2 separate regions of the Homo sapiens genome follow, and region 1 is linked to region 2. The links are contacts of gene promoters, found by promoter capture Hi-C in human tissues and cell types (Jung and others, 2019). All regions are on one chromosome and are shown on one strand. Each heading gives the region's core, a stretch centred on a gene start or on the middle of the fragment in contact. The rest is flanking DNA. Distances are from core to core; before and after follow the strand shown.

Region 1 (5,169 bases), core at 107-2,606, 110 kb after region 2:
AGAGCTCTTACGCCACATCATCTGCATACACACACGTACTCCCACTCCGACAAACATATCCCGAAACCCAGAGCCCAAGTGGTGTTTTGTTCCACGTGGCTATGAAACTAATGTTCCTTTAAGTCAATGGCTCTCTGTAAGAAAAAAAATCCTTCTACCTTGCTTTAAAATGAATTCATGACATTTACGACGTCAACCTAAGGTGCAGCAGGCCCGTTTTCCGTTTACTGACTGAAACGCACGTGTTCTATGACAATGCAAGCGAGTGATGCTCTTTAGGTGCTCCATCTGGGAATAGAGACCTGGTGCCCTCTTCGCCTGCTTCCTCCCCAGTGACCAGTCCTGGATATTTCACAGAACTACTAGGGAAAATCACACATGGCCACAAACATAAACGCATTCAAAAAAAGACTGGGTGGGACACGTGAGGCATGATTCTTCAATACACAATTACAGTACCTTTGTTGGGAGGGTATTTCGGCTTTTTTCCACCACCAACTAAAGCTAAATAGTTGCAGCGAAATAACATTTCAACATGGCCAACTCCTCCTTCTAGAAATTCTGAAATGATAGTTTTAAAAAGACCAATGTTACAAGTTAATATGTATATTTTACAATAAAAAAGAAAAGAGAAAGTCAAGACAGGTAACGCAGCAATTTTCTATTTTTTGTAAGAGACAAGATCTCACTGTGTTGCCCAGGCTGGAATGCAGTAGCTATTCACAGGTACAATCACAGCTCACTGCAGCCTTGAACTCCTGGGCTCACATGATCCTCCTGCCTCAGCTTCCCAAGTAGCTGGGAATACAGGACTCATTTTTTTTTTTTTTTTTTTTTTTTGAGAAGGAGTCTTGCTCTGTCACCCAGGCTAGAGTGCAGTCGCGCGATCTCGGCTTACTGCAACCTCCACCTCCTGGGTTCAAGCCACTCTCCTGCCTCAGCCTCCCCAGGTAGTTGGGATTACAAGCATGTGCCACCATGCCCAGCTAATTTTTGTATTTTTAGTAGAGATGGGGTTTCACTATGCTGGCCAGGCTGATCTCAAACTCCTGAACTCAGGCGATCAGTCTGCCTCGGCCTCCCAAAATGCTGGGACTACAGACATGAGCCACTGTGCCCGGCCTACAGGACTCATTTTTAATCAGCAATTTATATCTAACTATCGTCAGAAATGAGAAAGGTGACTGGCTAAAAAAATAGTGAGTGCTAGGTTTCCAAATTCTCTCAGTTTACTGTCATCATGTTCACTGTTTCATAAAGGCTGAGCACACAACACCCTAGGAAGCTAACTCAGCAAAATGTATGAAATACTTGAATTCACATTTCAAGAGGTGGCAAAACCTGTCAACTCCAAGACAGCATACTAAAAGCTTTAATGCTTGGGAGGCTGAGGCGGGCAGATGATGAGGTCAAGAGACTGAGACCATCTGGGCCAACATGGTGAAACGCTGTCTTTACTACAAATACAAAAATTAGCCGGCGTGGTGGCAGGCACCTGTAGTCCCAGCCACTCAGGAGCTGAGGCAGGAGAATCACTTGAACCCCGGAGGCTGAGGCTGCAGTGAGCCGAGATCACACCACTGCACTCCAGCCTGGTGACAGAGCGAGACTCTATCTCAAGATAAATAAATAAAAACAAAAATAAAAACAAACCAAAAAAACCCCACAAAACTTTAATGCAAAAGCTGAGTGACTTTTATCATTTCCTTTTTTTTTAAGAAACAGGGTCTTGCTGTGTTGCTCAGGCTTGAGTGCAGTGAAGTGATCACAGCTCACTACAGCCTCAAACTCCCGGGCTCAAGGACTCCTCCTGCTTCAGCCTCCCGAGTAGCTGGGACTACAGGCACACATCACCGCGCCTGGTTAATTTTTTCAGAAAAGTTTTTGTAGAGGCGAGGTCATACTGTATTGCCCAGGCTGGTCGTGAACTCCTGGTCTCAAACAATCCTGCCATCTCAGCCTCCCAAAATGCTGGGATTGTAAGTGTGAGCCACCGAAGTCTGAAATGCTCCCAACTGTTCATGAATTACGTAAGAGGAAAATGTCCACAAATTTTCAGAGGTCTTCCATGACAAAAGGATGACCAATGCTCTCTGAGGGGAGCAACAGGGGCACACTGATGAGAAACTCCCACGTTCTGCATGGTTCACGTAACTCAGGAGGACCATCCACCCACCCACTTCTGTGTCTGCAATGACCATGAGCTCTATCTCTCCAGTCACAGCTGCACGAAATGACTCAAAAGTTCCTCAGCTCGATCTTCGAGATATTTAAAATTCAAGGCAGCCGGGCACAGTGGCTCACATCTGTAATCCCAGCACTTTGGCAGGCAGAGGTGGGAGGACTGCTTGAGCCCAAGAGTTCAAGGCCATCCTGGGCAACATAAGGAAATCCCTTCTCTACCAAAAATAAAAATTAAAAAATTCGCCGGCCGCAGTGGCTCACGCCTGTAATCTCAGCACTTTGGGAGGCTGAGGCAGGTGGATTACTTGAGGTCAGGAGTTCGACCTGGCCAACATAGTGAAACTCCGTCTCTACTAAAAATACAAAAATTAGCTGGCTGTGGTGGCAGGCGCCTGTAATCCCAGCTATATAGGAGTCTGTGGCAGGAGAATCGCTTGAGCCCGGGAGGCAGAGGTTGCAGTGAGCAAGGATTGCACCACTGCACTCCAGCCTGGGCGAAGGAGGGAGACTCCATCTCAAAAAAAAAAAAAAAAAAACCAGCACGGGCAATGTGCTTTTGGGACATCAAACTTTTGTGCACCAAAGGACACAATCAACAGAATGAAAACACAACCTATGGAACGGCAGAGCATATTTACAAACCACACATCTGATACAGTGCGTAATATCCAGAATATATGAAGGACTTTTACAACTCAACAATAAAAAAATTAATAATCTGATTTTAAAATTGGCAAAGGATTTGAGTAGTGTTTCTTCAAAGATAATTTACAAATGGCCAACAAGTACAAAGAAAGATGCTCAACTTCATTAGGCATCAGAGACATCAAAACCAAACCACAATGAGATCCCACCACCTCATACCCATGAAGATGACTAATTTTTTTTCTTTTTTTGAGACAGTGTTGCTCAGGCAAGTGCAGTGATGAGAACAGGGCTCACTGCAGAGGATGGCTAATATTGTTTTTTAACCCAGGAAATAACAAGTACTGGCCAAGATATGAAGCTATGGGAACTCTCATGCACTGTCTGATGCAGCTGCTCTGGAAAAAAGTAGGACAGGTCCTCAAAAAATTAAAAAGAGGCTGGGCACAGCAGCTCACTCACACCTATAATCCCAGCACCCTGGGAGGCCAAGGCAGGATGATGACTTGAGGCCAGGAGTTTAAGATCAGCCTGGGCAACACAGTGAGACGCTCCCTCAATTAAAAAATAATAAAAAGGCCAGGCGTGGTGGCTCATGCCTGTTATCTCAGCACTTCGGGAGGCAAGGCAGGTGGATCACTTGAGGTCAGGAGTTTGAAACCAGCTTGGCCAACATGGTGAAACCTCGTCTCTACTAAAAATTCAAAAAAATTAGCCAGGCGTGGTGGCAGGTGCCTGTAATCCCAGCTACTTGGGAGGCTGAGGCAGGAGAATCGCTTGAACCCGGGAAGCGGACGTTGCAGTGAGCCGAGATTGTGACACTGCACGCCAGCCTGGGTGACACAGTGAGACTCCATCTCAAAAAAAAAAAAAAAAAAAAAAAAGGCTGATTTTTATAAATCAAAAAGTTACCAAATGACCAGATGCAGTGGCTCATACCCATAAACCCAACACCTTGGGAGGCCGAGGCAGGCGAATCATGAGGTCGGGCGATCAAGACCATCCTGGCCAACATGGTGAAACCCTGTCTCTACTAAAAATACAAAAATTAGCCAGGAGCGGCAGTGCACATCTGTAATCCCAGCTACTCGGGAGGCTGAGGCAGGAGAACTGCTTGAACCCGGGAGGCGGAGGCTGCAGTGAGCCGAGATCTCGCCAGTGCACTCCATCCAGCCTGGGCGACAGGGCGAGACTCTGTCTCAAAAAAAAAGAAAAAAACAAAGTTACCATATGATCCAGCAATCCCACTTCTAGTCATACAAGCAAAAGAACTCAAGGCAGGGTCTGGAAGAGATACCCGCACACCCACGCTTGTAGCAGCATCATTCACAATAGCAAAGATGCAGAAGGACCCGAGTGTCCACAGATGGAGAAATGAACAAACAGCACGTGCTCCATACGTGCAGTGATTTATTATTCAGCCTTAAACAGAAACAATATTTCTCATTTATGATTTTGTCAAGATAAGGTCTCACTATGTTGCCCAGACTGGTCTCAAACTCCTGGCCTCAAGCAATCCTCCTGCCTCAGACTCTGAAAACACTGGGATTACAGGGGTGAGCTGCGGTACCCGGCCTGAAGTTCTGACCCAGGCTGCAACAGAGATCAACCTAGAGAACACTACACTAAGTGAAATAAGCCAGGCATATATGATGGCATTCACGGGAAGTCCCTACAGCAGTCAAGTTCATGGAGACAGAAAAGTAGCACGGTGGTTACTAGGAGACAGGGGAGGCAGAATTGATGGATGTAGACTTTGGCTTCCCAAGATGAAATTCTAGAGGTCCGTTTAACAACAATGTGAATATATTCAACATTACTGATCTATGCGCTTAAAAATGGTTAAGATGGTAAATTTTATTTTACATAATTTTTTACCATAATTTTTTTTTTAAAAAATGCTGCCACTGAAGACCTTCTTTGCCCCAGGTGTCAGAAGTGTAACTATTTCCTCAATGTAGGTTCAGTAAGTTTTAGAAACACATCTGAGTGACCTGAGAATTATGTCAAGGTCACTAATGTACTCTTCAAACACTATTTAACCGAGAGACAATGTTTAGCCCTTTTATAAACTACATGATCTTAGGCTTATTAATAAAGTTATTAATGCTTGATTATATCATAAGTCTTTTCAGGTTTTTTTTTTTTTTTTGAGATGGAGTTTTGCTCTTGTCGCCCAGGATGGAGTGCAGTGGTGCGATCTTGGCTCACTGCAACCTCCACCTCCTGGGTTCAAGTGATTCTCCTGCCTCAGCCTCCCAAGTAGCTGGGATTACAGGCGCCCATCACACCCAGCTAATTTTTGTATTTTTAGTAGAGACGGCGTTTCACCATGTTGGC
Region 2 (5,778 bases), core at 2,432-4,931:
GTTGTTCTTTTTTTCTTTTCTTTTTTTTTTGAGACAAAGTCTCACTCTGTCACCCAGGCTGGAGTGCGGTGGCACGATCTTGGCTCACCGCAACCACCGCCTCCTAGTTAAAGCAATTCTCCTGCCTCAGCCTCCTGAGTAGCTGGGATTACAAGCATGCGCCACCACGCCCAGCTGATTTTTTGTATTTTTAGTAGAGACAGGGTTTCACCATGTTGGGCAGGCTGGTCTTGAATTCCTGACCTTTAGTGATCCGCCTGCCTCGGCCTCCCAAAAGTGCTGAGATTACATGTGTGAGCCACCACACCCGGCCTGTTTTTTTTTTTTTTTTTTGGTTAAATGATACACTTCCTATTTATCATTTCCATAGTCATCTCAATGTCCCCTAAAATCCCTCTAATATGGCCGGGCACGGTGGCTTACACCTGTAATCCTGGCACTTTGGGAGGCCAAGGCGGGCGGATCACTGGAGGTCAGGAGTTCGAGACCAGCCTGGCCAATATGGTGAAAACCCGTCTCTACTAAAAATATAAAAATTAGCTGGGTGTGGTGGCACACGCCTGTAATCCCAGCTACTCGGGAGGCTGAGGCAGGAGAATCGCTTGAACCCAGGAGGCGGAGGTTACAGTGAGTAGAGATTGGGCCACCGCACTCCAGCCTGGGCAACAGGGTGAGACTGTCTCAAAAAAAAAAAAAAAAGGAAAAGAAAAAAAAATTCCTCTAATATATAAGTGAATATTTAATGAAACAATTTTTTCTGTCTAGGAAATCCTGCCAGAACACTTTGCACCTGTAGGAATTTGTACTATAATTACAAACACATATATGGCAATTAAGACATGTAAATGTAGGTCGGGCATGGTGGCTCACGCCTGTAATCCCAGCACTTTGGGAGGCCCAGGCAAGTGGATCACGAGGTCAATAGATCGAGACAATCCTGGCCAACAGGGTGAAACCTCGTCTACTAAAAATACAAAATTAGCCAGGCGTGGTGGTGAGCACCTGTAATCCCAGCTACTTGGGAGGCTGAGGCAGGAGAATCACTTGAACCTGGGAGGTGGAGGTTGCAGTGAGCCAAGATCGCACCATTGCACTCCAGCCTGGGCAACAAGGGCAAAACTCCACTCAAAAAAAAAAAAAAAAAAAAAAAAGACATGTAAATGTTACATTCAGAGGGACACATTAATTTCCATTTCTTTTAGAAAAAGTTTTTACACATTGAAGGAATAAAAATGCATGAACTGACCCTGATGTCTCCTGCCTGGGGCCCCCAGTTGGTGGTTCCTGTTCAGGATCTCCACTTTATCCTGCTCCGTTTAAGTCCAGTCTCAAGTCTTTCTACTCACACTAAACTCCTTTTGTACCTACATTATGATGATGATGATTATTTTCGAGACAGAGTCTGGCTTTGTCACCCAGGCTGGAATGCAGTGGTGCAATCTCCGCTTGCTTACTGCAATTTCCGCCTCCCGCGTTTAAGCGATTCTCCTGCCTCAGCCTCTCAAGTAGCTGGGATTATAGGCACGTGCCACCACACCCAGCTAATATTTGTATTTTTAGTAGATATGTGGATTCACCATGTTGGCCAGGCTGGTCTCCAACTTCTAACCTCAAGTGATCCACCCACCTCGGCCTCCCAAAGTGTTGGGATTCAGTCATGAGCCACCGTGCCAGGCCTCTGTACCTAAATTATATCATTTCTCTCTTCTAATTGTTCTTTGCTATTTAACAAGCAGCAAATAGAGGAACCCTGGGGTGTTTGCTATAACCTGTATATATAGGCTATAATAGGATCTTCTCCTCACACACCCTGCAGGAACCACCATGCTGAAAGAAGTGAGACAATTCAGGGGGCAGTCCCTCCCCAGCAGAGACTAAATTGGTACCATTTGTTGCTATTTCAGTTTTGCGAAGATGCGCGCTTGGAGCCCAAGCCATGGTTTCTAGGGCTGACACTGACTTCCCACGGAATTCTTCCTGTTTAAGAGGTTGTAGACTTTTCATGATCCTGAACCTTGAACGTCTCCACAACTGGTTAAGTACCCGTGAGATACATTTACAGGATTTTTTCTTTCTTTTCCCAATTTTTTTTTTTTTTTTTTTTTTTGAGACGGAGTCTCCTCTGTCACCCAGGCTGGAGGGCAGTGGCGTGATGTCTGCTCACCACAACCTCCGCCTCCCAGGTTCGAGCGATTCTACTGCCTCAGCCTCCCAAGTAGCTGGGACTGCAGGCACGCCCCACCATGCCTGGCTAATTTTTGTATTTTTAGTAGAGACGGGCTTTTACTATGTTGGGCAGGCTGGTCTTGAACTCCTGACCTTGTGATCCACCCGCCTCGGCTTCCCAAAGCACTGGGATTACAGGTGTGAGCCACCGCGCCCGGCCACAGGATTTTTTCTTTTTAATGTTAGGAGTTTCATTGATTAGTGAACATCTGGACTATTGATCATCTTGATTTAGATGGGATCTTGTAATTTTTTAAACGGTGGCGAAATTCTTTTTTTAAAAACTTAGTATCAGATTGGTTAAGATATTAACTATTCGTTCATGAGAGTTCATATATATATAGTTCATATATATATAGTTCATATATGTATATAGTTCATATATATAGTTCATATATATATAGTTCATATATATATAGTTCATATATATATATATAGTTCACATATATATAGTTCATATATATACATATGAGACGTAGTTTCACTCTTGTTGCCCAGACTGAAGTGCAGTGACGCGATCTCGGCTTACTGCAACCTCCACCTCCCAGGTTGAAGCAATTCTCCTGCCTCCGCCTCCCAGGTTTAAGCAATTCTCCTGCCTCAGCCTCCTGAGTAGCTAGGACTACAGGTGTGCACCACCACACCCGGCTATTTTTTTTTTTTTTTTTGTATTTTTAGTAGAGCTGGGATTTCACCATGTTGGCTAGGCTGGTCTCGAACTCCTGACCTCAGGTGATCCGCTCGCCTCGGCCTCCCAAAGTGCTGGGCTTACAGGCGTGAGCCACCGCGCCCGGCCTCGTGTATATTTTTAAACTGTGTGCTGACGACAGTTAAGTAAATGTGATTCAGAACTTCTGCGTATTTTGCAGGACAGTTTTGACACAATGACATGACTCGCTAGCCAGGAAAGATAACGACATCCAGTCCTGGAGCTGCTGGTTAAAAACGAACGTGTCACCGGGTCCCCTGGGTCTGAGGCCACGCGGCACGCGGCCCCTCCGCGATATTCCCGCACCTCGCGGGGAAAAGGCCGCTCGGCGGCCGGGCCTGGGCTCGCGGGCCGCCGCCTATCCGCACCCCGGCGTCCACGCCGGGTTGGGGGCCGCTGCGTGCCTGGCGCCCGCTGTGACCTTGGGCCTGGTCCCGCCCGCCGCGCCTAAGGCGCTGCCAGGCCGGGCTCAGACCCCCGAGCTCCCGCGCCCGCGCCAACCCCGCGCCAGCCCCGATCCCGCGCGGGCTGCCGACTGTCCGCCCCGGGTTTTCCGCGGCGCCCGGAGTCGGGACTGCGTCGGGCGTCGCCGCCGGACGTGCCGGCAGCTTGGTGCGACGTGTCTTGCCATTGGCCTGCTTCGGTAGCCCCACTGCCGTACGCCGCCCCCATTGGCCGGCGTAACCGTCCGTCAGCGAGGGGCGGGCCCGGCGTGCCGGCTCGGTGGCGCGGCCGCGCGTGCTCCCGCCCCTCGCCGCCGCTCGCTCGCTCGCCGGCCGGCGGCCTCCGCTCGGCCCCCTCCCTCAGCTCCGGTGCGCGGCGGCCGACGACCCGCGCGGCCTGGGCCTCGGCCCGCGCCACCGGCGCCCGCGCGGAGCGGCCCGGGGGCCCTCACGCAGGCCCATGGCGGCGGCCGCGGCGGCGCTCTCGGGCGCGGGCACGCCACCCGCGGGCGGCGGGGCCGGGGGCGGCGGGGCCGGGGGCGGCGGGTCCCCGCCGGGCGGCTGGGCCGTGGCGCGCCTGGAGGGCCGCGAGTTCGAGTATCTGATGAAGAAGCGCTCGGTGACCATCGGCCGCAACTCGTCGCAGGGCTCGGTGGACGTGAGCATGGGCCACTCGAGCTTCATCTCCCGGCGCCACCTCGAGATCTTCACGCCCCCGGGCGGCGGCGGCCATGGCGGGGCCGCTCCGGAGCTGCCGCCCGCGCAGCCCAGGCCCGACGCCGGCGGCGACTTCTACCTGCGCTGCTTGGGCAAGAACGGGGTATTCGTGGACGGCGTGTTCCAGAGGCGCGGGGCGCCGCCGCTGCAGCTGCCGCGCGTGTGAGTGGCCTCGGGGCGGGGCGGGCGGGGTCTGCGGCCTGCAGCGCCTGGCAGGACGGGACGGGACACGCGCCCAGGCCCGGGACCACCCACGAGCGGGGGCCCGACTCTCCCACAGCCGGGACCACCAGCGGGACCCAGGCCCCGGCTGGATCCCAACCCTCGACAGCCCCTGGCCCCGACCCCCGTCCTCCCGGTCCCCTTCCTGGCAGGTGCAGCCCCCCGTCTTTCCCCCTTCCTGGAGCCGGGGCTGCGGGCGGCTGCGCGCGCGGGTCAAGGTTTCTGGGTTCTGTGCGTGCGGGGAGTTCACGTGTGCTGTTTCTATTCTGCAGCGAGGTCGCGCTGAACAGAAATGTGAAAACGGTGTGCGGTGGGAGGAACTGCCCCGAACTAAAATCTATGTCTCTTAACCGATGAAGGGTTGTCTGTTGTCTTTTGTTGTTGTTGTTGTTCAGTCGTTTTCAGTAGTGAGCTGTTTCAAGAGTGCGGTGTTTTAAGCAGGAAGGACTCCTTTTTCCCTGCCGTGTTTTCAGTAGGCCAAATTGGAAGACGCTTCAAGCATGATGGATTTTCAATCTGTGCTCTGAACCTTAAAATTTAGGGAAAACTAGATGCTTTTCGCATAACTTCTACAAAAAGACAGTTGATTAGGAATTATTACAAGGTCATGTAGAGTGTTAAGTCAGCCTGATAGGGAACTGCCTATCCTGCTACAAAACAATTTAGCTTGGTCCTGTGGTTTTATGAAGTTATCGTTTACTCTGCTTGAAACACAAACTTGCTGTCTAGGAAATGCTAATTATTCCTCAGGGGCTCACTTCTAGATCATTGCAAGTACAGCCTTTGTCCACACAAACTGGAATTTTTTTGTTTTTTGTTTTTTGAGACGGAGGCTCACTTTGTCGCTCAGGCTGGAGTGTAGTGGCGCGATCTTGGCTCACTGCAATCTCCGCCCTTTGAGTTCAAGTGGTTCTCCTGCCCCAGCCTCCCGAGTAGCTGGGATTACAGGCGCCTGCCACCGCGCCCGGCTAATTTTTTGTATTTTTAGTAGAGACGGGGTTTCACCATCTTGGCCAGGCTGGTATTGAACTCCTGACCTCGTGATCCACCCGCCTCGGCCTCCCAAAGTGCTGGGATTACAGGCGTGAGCCACCGCGCCCGGCCTACAAATTGGAATTTTTAACGCTTTCGGTTGTTGGAGATGCTGGTAAGAGCTGTTGCTTTTCTTCTTGACTTGCGTGTTGTGTGTGTGTGCATGCGCTGTTCTGTTTCTTAGCATGGAAAGGTGCACCAGCATATTCCTTAAACTTTGGTAGTAGCATTTTAAAGAATGTTATTTTCAGGCCGGGCGCGGTGGCTCACGCCTGTAATCCCAGCACTTTGGGAGGCCGAGGCGGGTGGATCACGAGGTCAGGAGGTCGAGACCATTCTGGCTAACACGGTGAAACCCGTCTCTACTAAAAATACAAAAAAAAAAAAAAAATTAGCCGGGCGCGGTGGCGGGCGCCTGTAGTCCCAGCT

The links. The method cuts DNA at HindIII sites, captures the fragments that hold promoters and counts their contacts. A contact is called where the count stands out against the background at its distance.
Region 1: a fragment that was not itself captured here is called in contact with the fragment with the promoter of FOXK2 in region 2 in 3 of the 25 tissues and cell types used here (H1 embryonic stem cells, dorsolateral prefrontal cortex and pancreas).

Annotation. Positions count from the first base shown.
Region 1 is chr17:82,630,462-82,635,630 of GRCh38, forward strand. WDR45B (WD repeat domain 45B) reads right to left here. Exons shown (of 10, transcript NM_019613.4): 3 at 460-561. Among named protein-coding and RNA genes, the nearest start is that of WDR45B, 15 kb to the right of the region's middle. The HindIII fragment of the contact is 5,957 bases long and covers 1-4,335 here.
Region 2 is chr17:82,516,051-82,521,828 of GRCh38, forward strand. FOXK2 (forkhead box K2) reads left to right here and starts at 3,682. Exons shown (of 9, transcript NM_004514.4): 1 at 3,682-4,257. The coding sequence starts at 3,839. RefSeq lists silencers at 3,102-3,761, 4,212-4,391, 4,472-4,521. The HindIII fragment of the contact is 19,651 bases long and covers 1-5,778 here.